Regions from separate parts of the Homo sapiens genome. Here region 1 is linked to region 2. The links are contacts of gene promoters, found by promoter capture Hi-C in blood cells and fetal thymus (Javierre and others, 2016). All regions are on one chromosome and are shown on one strand. Each heading gives the region's core, a stretch centred on a gene start or on the middle of the fragment in contact. The rest is flanking DNA. Distances are from core to core; before and after follow the strand shown. Region 1 holds the start of DMRTA2 (DMRT like family A2). Region 2 holds the start of FOXD2 (forkhead box D2).

Region 1 (4,618 bases), core at 1,678-4,177, 3.0 Mb before region 2:
CCGGCCTGGAGGTTCGAAAGAGCAACGCAGAGACGCACGGTCAAGAGTGGAGGGAGAACGACAGGAACGCTCATTTTCCTCATTATTTAAACGAATTTTCTTTATTCTGAAGGAGAGAGAGAAAAGTAGAGAACAAAAACGAGAGTGACAGAACATTAGAAATTAGAGGGAAAAACAGAATTAGAGGGAAAAACAGAACTTTAGAAATTAGAGGGGAAAAGACACAGAGATAAAATCAGAGCTACAGAAACCGAGGGCGACTCGCCCGAGGGCCGCGGCATTAATTCCAGATGTTTGAAAGGCAACAGCCTTTCAAAAAGGAAACAAAATCTGAAACCTGTTACCTCTTCTGCAGAACGAGCTGTTCCTCAGGGCCGTGACATCAAGACAAGACGAGAATAAGGCGAAAGTTAAAACTGAAAACTGTCCGAGGGGGCCTCCCAGCAGTGACTTTGTCTCTTGCCGGGAAGGTCGGACAGACCGATGCGCGTCCTGAGTTTAAGAGAATCTGCGGAGACACAGAGGCCACTTTTTACTTTCGTTTAGAAAAGAAAAAAAAAGGGGGGGGGGCTATTTGTTCATTTGCAATAACGACAAAAAGAATCCCACCACCACGGAAAAGAAATCGAGATGCTGAAAAGTGAGGAAAAGAGAGCTCAAAAGGGGCTGAGGGACGCGAAAAGAGGGGCGGGGAGAGGAAAGGCTCAGGGCGCGAGGGACGTGGCGGGCACCGACAGGAAGTGCAATCTCATTTCTCTTCGCTGAGCTTCTCTTTAAACACGAAAATCTTCATAAACCACACTTACCCTCCAGGATGACTATCGTATCAGGACTTTTAAAATAAAGTAACTGAGCTTTAAGGAGACAGGAGGAAAAAACCAAAGCAGCCCCCAACTACCCCAAACTCGTCGGATTTGGGAGCGCGCCGAAACATAGCAGGAAGAAGGCAGGAAAAATCGTCCTGGCATTTATGCCTTGAACACCCTCCCTTCCCCACCCCCGCACCCTTGTCCCGCCCCTACCCCGACCGCAGTAATTGAATTGTCACCTGCCCCCCATCCCGCCTCAGGGCTCCAGAGCCACTTGGGAAGCTCGGCTTTGCCAAGCGCCCCAGGCCAGTAAGAGCGGTGCAGCCGAGCCGGCGCCCCAGAAGCCGAGAGGTTACACAAGTCTACGCAGAGAGGCGCACCGGACACGGTAATTAGGAGCAATTCACACGCTCTCGGGCGCACGGAAACTACTTGTCAGGAAATTTTCAACGCTCCTCCTCGCCCACTTTTTTCCACTCCTTTCCTGGCGCGCCCCCTCCCCTCCCAGAGGCACGCAGTGGAGCTTTTGGAGTTTCGAATCTTTCGGACACTGCAGAATGCGGGGCTCCCCGGGCGCGGGCCCGGCCAATCAGAGCGCCGTCTGCCTCCCCTGGCCAATGGCAGGCGCCACATTGTTGTCCAATTCTGTCTAATGGAGCCCTAAGGACCAACAATAGAGCGGGCGAGCGGCTCATTGAGAGTCTGGCAGCGCCGGGCAACTGGGCCCCGGCTGCGCGCAGCGTCCGGCGCGCACCGCGAGGGGACCCGGCACGGCGAGAGTCAGGTCGCGGGTTCCAACCACGCGGCCCGCAGACGAGCCTCCGACCCGGATTTCTGAAGGGAGGGTTGGACTGCGCTGCGTTCTGAGGGGTCCGGAAGTTCGGACATGGTGACTGAAGGAGGGTGACGTGGTCAGATAAGGGGCCGGGGGCAAAGGGAAGCGGCCAAGAGCTCCAGCGTCGCCAGTGGAGCCGGGAGGCGCGTGCAGCGCCAGCGGAGGAGGAGGATCCCGGAGCCCAAGGCAGGTAGTTGAGGGCCGCAGGGAGAGCAGTGGGTGGAGACCTGGTCTGCGGCCCCTGTTGAGGAGGCCTGGGCCCCGTGGGCCTTAGGGACGCCCGAAGGGTCTGGGAGAGGAGGCAACGCTCATAGAGAGGAGGTCTGGGACTCTCGGACGGAGACACAAGGACTCTGTCGCGGGCTCTGGCAGGGACGGGGAACGCGGGAAGCAGAGGAGACCGCGGCAGAAGCGGGGAGCTGGGCCTGCTTGGGCCTTATGGGGCTGCGGCGTGGGAGGGACTCTGGTGTCCGTTTATGGCCAGTTGCGAAGGCGACTCCCCTGGCTTGGTGCGGCCTGCTGGGCCATCCGTGTCCTAGGACCCCAACTCTGAGATCAGAACGCAGGAGCCTGCGCTCGAGAGGGGTCCCCTGGGACCCCAAGACGGGGAGGGCGTGTCTGACGACTCTGTCCCTAAACCCGGAGGGGAGGGGAGGGCAGTGTGAGGTGGTCTTCGAGAAAGATCCCCCTCCCGAAATGCCTAACTTTTCGCAGGATACGTCTTCCGCCCCGACTACTACTCCAGACTGCGAAGCTAAAAAACTGCACCACAGGTTTTACCCAATCCCCTCCCCCAGCATTTGCCTGTGGGGTTTTTTCTTACACATTCCCCTCTCCCAGGCGCGGCCCCTGGATCCCGGACACCCAGATCAGCTGCTTTTCACTGTTTTCCTTGCCCATGAAGCTCATCTTTGGGCTGGGTTTGCCTATACAGAAAGTTTCTTTGGCCGAATTTTTCTCTTTAATACTTCCCAGTCCTAAGCTAAATTCCACATACATTTTGTCTCTCACTCTCTGGAGGCCCTCACCGTGGAACTTTTGGCGCTCACATTTTTACGGGTCCCAGAGCCACTGGGCCTAACTTTGCCCAAGTTGTTTCCTCGTCCTCACTCTGCTTCCTAAAGCTATTCTTTCTGTTGTTGATTTTTCTCTCCAAAGCTTCTGCCCCAAACTGCATTAAAAATAAACAAACAAAAAGAAACAAAACTCCGGCCCAACCGGCCTTCACATCTGCGCCTTCACATCTCTCTCCTCTTCACCCTTCCACCAAACTGACCGTTTTGCTCCGGGTTTTCCTGTTTTGCCCTTGGCATCAGCCTAACTTCTGGGCCAAAACTGTCGCTCTAATCCCAGTCCCGTCAAACGAGCATTTCTCTCACCCGTCTCACCCCAATTAGGCTAAGCTTTGGGGTATCATCTTAACTTTTCCAAATTCTCATTACAGCCATCTGAATCAGTGACTTTCACACTTTACATGTCTCTTTATTTTTTCCAGCGGAATCACTAATTCAGACAAAATCTTACCCCTAGCGTGTATATCAGGTCTAAGAGCAGCCATGGCCAGACTGGGGTGAAGGTGCTAGGGCTCACAAGGAGGTTCCGACTGCACCTCCTCCCAGCAATTCTGGCCCCTCTAGCCCAGCCTCCGCGGCCCAAATTTCCCTCTCCAGCTTGGGTTCCTCAAGGCGGCGCTTTGGCCTAGCGCGCGGTGTGCTCCTCACCAGGTCTCTCCCCTCTCCCACCTTCTTTCCCGTCAGGTCCTGTCATGGAGCTGCGCTCGGAGCTGCCCAGCGTGCCCGGCGCGGCGACGGCGGCGGCGGCAACAGCGACGGGGCCGCCTGTGGCGTCGGTGGCGTCGGTGGCGGCAGCCGCGGCGGCCGCTGCATCGCTACCGGTGAGCGTGGCAGGCGGCTTGCTGCGGGGGCCGCCACTGTTGCTGCGGGCAGCCGAGAAGTACCCGCGGACCCCCAAGTGCGCGCGCTGTCGCAACCATGGCGTGGTGTCGGCCCTCAAGGGCCACAAACGCTACTGTCGCTGGAAGGACTGCCTGTGCGCCAAGTGCACGCTCATCGCGGAGCGCCAGCGTGTCATGGCGGCGCAGGTGGCGCTGCGCAGGCAGCAGGCGCAGGAGGAGAACGAGGCGCGCGAGCTGCAGCTGCTCTACGGCACTGCCGAGGGGCTGGCGCTGGCCGCCGCCAACGGCATCATCCCCCCGAGGCCCGCCTACGAGGTCTTCGGTTCAGTGTGCGCCGCCGACGGCGGGGGACCTGGAGCGGGAGCGCCCGCGGGGACCGGAGGCGGAGCAGCTGGCGCAGGGGGCTCAGGTGAGAGCGCGGCCAGGCCGCAGGTAGGGGCAGCAGGATCGTAGCTCTGGGGCACGGGGCCCAGGGGCTTGTCTCGGTTCAGAAAGAGTAGAACCCCCGTGTCCAGTCGCCGCGACTGCTAGGGTTCACCGCTCGCCCAGCCTCGGGTATGGAGCGTGGGTACAGAAACTCTCCTTTCTCCCGCTTCTGGAGCATTTGCACTTTACCCCTTTCTCCTGCATCGGGCCGAAATGTACACGCTTTAATTTTTTTACTCGCCTCTACCCAAACGCAGGCAGGTCCCTGCTTCTTTGCTTCGTCTTCTCCCCAGGTGGAAACCTGCGCATCTTCGTTCGCTCTGCGCTTCTCCACAGGCCCTTTCCCTCTGCTCCTTCCCAACTCCCTTAAGGAATCCCCCCCCCTTTAACTGACACCCTAGGTTTTGAGACGCCCTAGGTTCTGAGACGCCCTAGTTTCTTTTCCCCTTCTCGCGTTCCTAACGCCCTCTGGACAACCGCTTGCTGCGCCCTCCCTCCTTCTAGTTTCTTCCGCACCCTCCCTGGTTTCTCAGGTCTGCTTTCCTATGTCTTTTCCTCTTCGCTTCCTACTGCCTGCCTAGCACCACCCTCTTTTTCTGGACCCCCGTGGCTTTTTGTGGGGAGGGAAGAAAT
Region 2 (4,201 bases), core at 667-3,166:
CTGGCCAGGCATCTCTCCCGGAATGTGTTCCCCGAGAGGCGCAGAGGCAGGGAAAAAAACGAAGCCCCCACCCCCCTGCTTTTATTTCTCAAACTGTAAAGAATCTTGGCCTGCGACTTCTTCGCGTAGCCCCGGGCCTGTCGCCCTGAGCGATAGAGCCCGCTTAGTCCCAACTATCTGCGAGATTCTGTGCGTGGAGCCTGAAGTGCCGTGTCACGCGTGCCGGCCCAAGGTCTGGAGACTTCATAAATAGACTCCCTGAGTTCCGCTGGGACCGCAGGAACTCCCGGGAGAGGCTGAGGAGTGCGGACCTAACCGGCCCTGGGCCTGCTGCGGTCAGAAGTGGCAGCCACTAAGGCCGGCGACTTTGCTGGCAAACCGGGACCCTGAGGACAGCAGCGCGTCCCCGGGATGCGAGAGGCGAATGTGGCCAGCAACGGGAGCCAGGGCCGGAGCAGTCAGCATGGCCAAGACCTGGGCTTGGCCCCCAGGACCCGCGGCTGCCGCGAATGGCGGTCCCGGAGAGCCCTCGCCGGCGCCCGGGGGTGCTGCCCCGCCGCCACCGTGGCCCATGATGTGGTCTATAGAGAAGGAAGGCCTCTGCCCTGCCCCGGCGCCCCCGCCGCCTGCACCACCGCCCGCGTCCGTCTTGAGGCCCTGGCGCAGAAGTGCGGTGGGCAGACCCGCCGCGGTGCCGGCTGCGGGAGGACTCAGGGACGCCGCGTAGAAGGCTTTGGCGCAGCCCAGCTCCGCGCCCAGGAAGGCGGGCAGGCCTGCGGGGCCCGGGCCCGGGCCCGAGCCTGAGGCAGGCGCAGGAGCTGGGGCCGATCCCGCGCCTGCGAACACCGAGGCCGTCGGAGGTCCGGGTGGAGGCGCGGCGGCGCGGCCTGGGGGTACCGACAGCTGGCAAGGAGCGGCGGCGGCTGCCGCGGCGAAAGCGAAGGCGTGCGGGTGCGGGTGCGGATGCGGGGCCGGCCCCGGCGGGGGTGCGCCGTAGGCCGGGAGAGCCAGCCCGTAGCCGTAGCCGTAGGCGCCGTAGGCAGCGAAGCCGGGCAGGAAAGCGCCGGGATCCCCCGCCGCCGCGGCCCCGCCACGCAGCAGCAGCTCCGGGTGAGGGTGCGGGTGTGGGTGCGGCGGCGGCAGGGGCTGCCGCTTGAAGCGCTTGCGACGCCGCAGGAAGCTGCCGTTGTCGAACATGTCGGCCGACTCCGGGTCCAGCGTCCAGTAGTTGCCCTTGCCCGGGTTGCCCGGCTCGCGGGGGATCTTGACGAAGCAGTCGTTGAGAGAGAGGTTGTGGCGGATGCTGTTCTGCCAGGCGGGGAACTTCTCCCGGTAGTAGGGGAAGCGGCCGCTGATGAACTCGCAGATCTCGCTCAACGTCAGCCGCTTCTTGGGGCTCTGCAGGATGGCCATGGTGATGAGCGCGATGTACGAGTAGGGCGGCTTCACCAGCGGGCTCCGCGTCGCCGCGCCCCCCGACGGCGGTCCCGGCCCGGGCCCCGCTGCGCCGCGGGCCGCCGCGGCGCCTGGCCCCGGGCTCCCCGCTGCGGCCGCCGCCCCCCGGGACGCCAGAGCGCGGGGCTCGCCGTCCGAGCAGCCACCAGACTCCTCCTCGTCCTCGGCTAAGTCTGCCTCGGCTTCCTCCGCGGGAGGCTCGTGGCCGTGGGGGAGCACGTCCCGGGGGGCGCGGGGCCCGGAGCGAGCTGGGAGCTCCCCCCCGCCGCTGCCGCCGCCCACCACGTCTATGTCTGCGTCGGCCTCGGACAGCGCGGCCGGGGAGCTCTCGGAGGACATGATCTCGCAGCAGCAGCTGCCCAGGGTCATGGTGCCGCTGCCGCCGCCGCCGCCACTCTCCGGCTCCGCTCCGGCAGCGGCTCGGGCTCGGCCGCGCTGCCTCTGGGGCGAGTGCGTTTTGCGCGCGGGCGGGGAGGGGGCGGGGGACTGAGGCAGGCAGGGAGGGGTGTCCCCCGGCTCCGCAGCGCCCCCTGGCGGCCCAGCTCGGCCGCGCTCACCTTCCAGGGCACGACCCGCCGGCGGCCCCCGCCACTACCCCGGGAATCCGAGCTGGGACCCGCCGCTGGGGCGCAACGGAAGGAGCTGAGGCTTTCCCTTACCTGGGCGGGCCTCAGCCCCTAGTCCCCTCGGGGTGGCAGTGGTTGGTGGTGGGGGATTGTCCCTCCCGCCTAGCGGCTGCCTAAGGCGGAAGAGCTGCGGGCTAGGGCGGAGCTCCCTGGGCGGGGTGGGGCGAGGCGACAGGGGCGGGCGTAGCGCCTCCGCTGAGGGACCCGGCGGGAACAAACCGCCGCCGCGGCGGGAGCTGGGCTCGAGTGGCCGGAGGCGGGCCCTTGTCTTCGCCGCCGCTCCTGCACCCTGTGCTCCCTGAAGCCGCCGCCTTCAGAACGCTCAGCCCCTGGATGTTAAGGCTCACTCGGGCGCCAGCCGCAGCCAGGGAAGTGGCGGCGGTCCCCACCCGTCCTCTCCCCAAGGCGGCGCCCGGGCCACCGGGCCGAAGCGCAGTGGGAGCGCGAGGCTGAGACGCCGGGACCCACGCCGCCCCAGCGCGGCCCGCCGGCGCCCACCCGAGCCCGCACGGCTTCCAGCCCGAGGGGAGACGCATTCGAGTGATCACCAGGAGCGAACTTGGCGCCCGCAGCCTTGGGCCTGGGAGAGGTGAGATTGCGGCGGCGCCCTCTCCTCCCTCCGCTGTCGGGCCCGCCACCCCTCTCCGCGCGGAGAGGCCGGGCAGAGCGCCGGCCGCTGTGGCCGCGTTCCCGGGGCGCGGGCCGGTCTACTGCTCCGAGTTTGCCTGTTCTCCGACCCTCTGGATCTCGGCATCCGTTTGTCTCAGTCTCTGTGACTATCTCACTCTCCGTGAGTCTCTGTGGAAACGGCATTTGTCTGGATGTCTGTTCATGGGTCTGGGAATCCGCTTAATTTCTCCCTCCCCTCTCCCTGGCCCCAGTTGCCCTGAGGACTGGACACCCCCCACCTTCCTGGCTCCCAGGGTTCTGGGCCCCACCGACAGGCGGCAGGACCTCCTCCGCCCCCTGCCCGACACCCCCTCAGTGAACCCTGACCTCCACCAAGTGTTGCCTTCATCTCTCAAAAGTCTTGTGCAACTAAGGTTGGCCCTGTGCCTTGTTTCTCGCTAGCCGGGTTCCTGCCCATCCTATTAGACCTCTTTCTCCCCCGGCCTCCCTCCAGGACCCAGAAACAAGCAGCTTCAACACAGATTGGGCCCATTTCAGCCTCTGGGGCACGGAAGGGGAGATGGGCGCTGGACGTGAGCAGGAACTGAGCGGATGCCTGGGCTGCTGCCCCGACAGCGCCGCACAGTGGCTAAAGCTCGGGCGTGCGAGGCCGGAATCCCAGCTGCCTCCGCTGTAGCAAGGCTGTGTGACCCTCATTAGGTGACTTCCCCGCTTCGGAGCCTCAGTTTCCTGGTCTGCATAGTAGTTAAGAGCAGCGACCTTAAGTCAGGCTCCTGGGGTTCCAATCCTGCCTTCACTACTTACCCTATCTGTCACCTTGGGCAAGGTTCTTTGCGCTTTGTTTCTGCCTTTGTAAAAATGAGGCTAGTAACACCTACCTCAGAACTGATGTATAAGTGTAGCCATATTCTAGGCCATTTAGGAAAGGGTACTGAGAACACTTTGCAGTTTCATCTAACAGCAGCCTCCAATCTACGGGATAGCCTGGTGTTAATCCAACTCTCCCATTCCACAGATGGAGCTACAGAGGCCCAGGATAGGGAGAAAGAACTCACCCAGGCTCCTGCAAAGAAATAGAACAGAGTTGGGTTGCAACCCTTTTCACAGAATCCTCAAAATAGAGTTCTTCATCCCCCCAAGGTAAGGGCAGAAAAAAATGGAAGGCAGGTCTGACTACTCATGTCCTTTGAGAGGAAGTCGCCTGGGCCCCCTCTGGGACCTCTGACCAAGGGGATCCATTTAATGTGCTGTTCCAGCATAAACTGTCATTGGAAAAAAGAGAAATCTCGTCCTCAAACCATGGACAGCAAATTGGACAGGGACTAGTAGCCCTGGAATTGGAATTTCCTGGGTGACAGACTGTCCGGGGAAAAAGGTCTTGGAGAGAAGCTTCTTGCATGAGTCCAAGGAAACTCACATACCTAGGGTTGCTAGATTTAGCAGATTTATTTTATCTGGCAACCCTACACATACCTCAAGCTTGCTCTTGA

The links. Contacts are between HindIII fragments. The CHiCAGO score rates a contact against its expected background, and 5 or more counts as called.
Region 1: a fragment that was not itself captured here is called in contact with the fragment with the promoter of FOXD2 in region 2 in 2 of 17 cell types (total B cells and naive B cells); the score reaches 12.0 in total B cells.

What each region holds. Positions count from the first base shown.
Region 1 is chr1:50,420,328-50,424,945 of GRCh38, reverse strand. It overlaps DMRTA2 (DMRT like family A2), which reads left to right and starts at 1,503. Exons shown (of 3, transcript NM_032110.3): 1 at 1,503-1,830; 2 at 3,402-3,968. The coding sequence starts at 3,410. LOC105378714 (a long non-coding RNA gene) reads right to left here and starts at 1,400. Exons shown (of 3, transcript XR_947325.3): 1 at 1,049-1,400; 2 at 345-508; 3 at 74-106. RefSeq lists a silencer at 321-380 and an enhancer at 3,208-3,707. The HindIII fragment of the contact is 245 bases long and covers 2,805-3,049 here.
Region 2 is chr1:47,435,759-47,439,959 of GRCh38, reverse strand. FOXD2 (forkhead box D2) reads right to left here and starts at 1,916. Exons shown (of 1, transcript NM_004474.4): 1 at 1-1,916. The coding sequence starts at 1,824. The coding sequence ends at 337. It overlaps LINC01389 (long intergenic non-protein coding RNA 1389), which reads left to right and starts at 2,643. Exons shown (of 5, transcript NR_126355.1): 1 at 2,643-2,670. RefSeq lists an enhancer at 1-498 and silencers at 1,687-1,866, 1,897-2,796, 3,277-3,436. The HindIII fragment of the contact is 12,776 bases long and covers 1-4,102 here.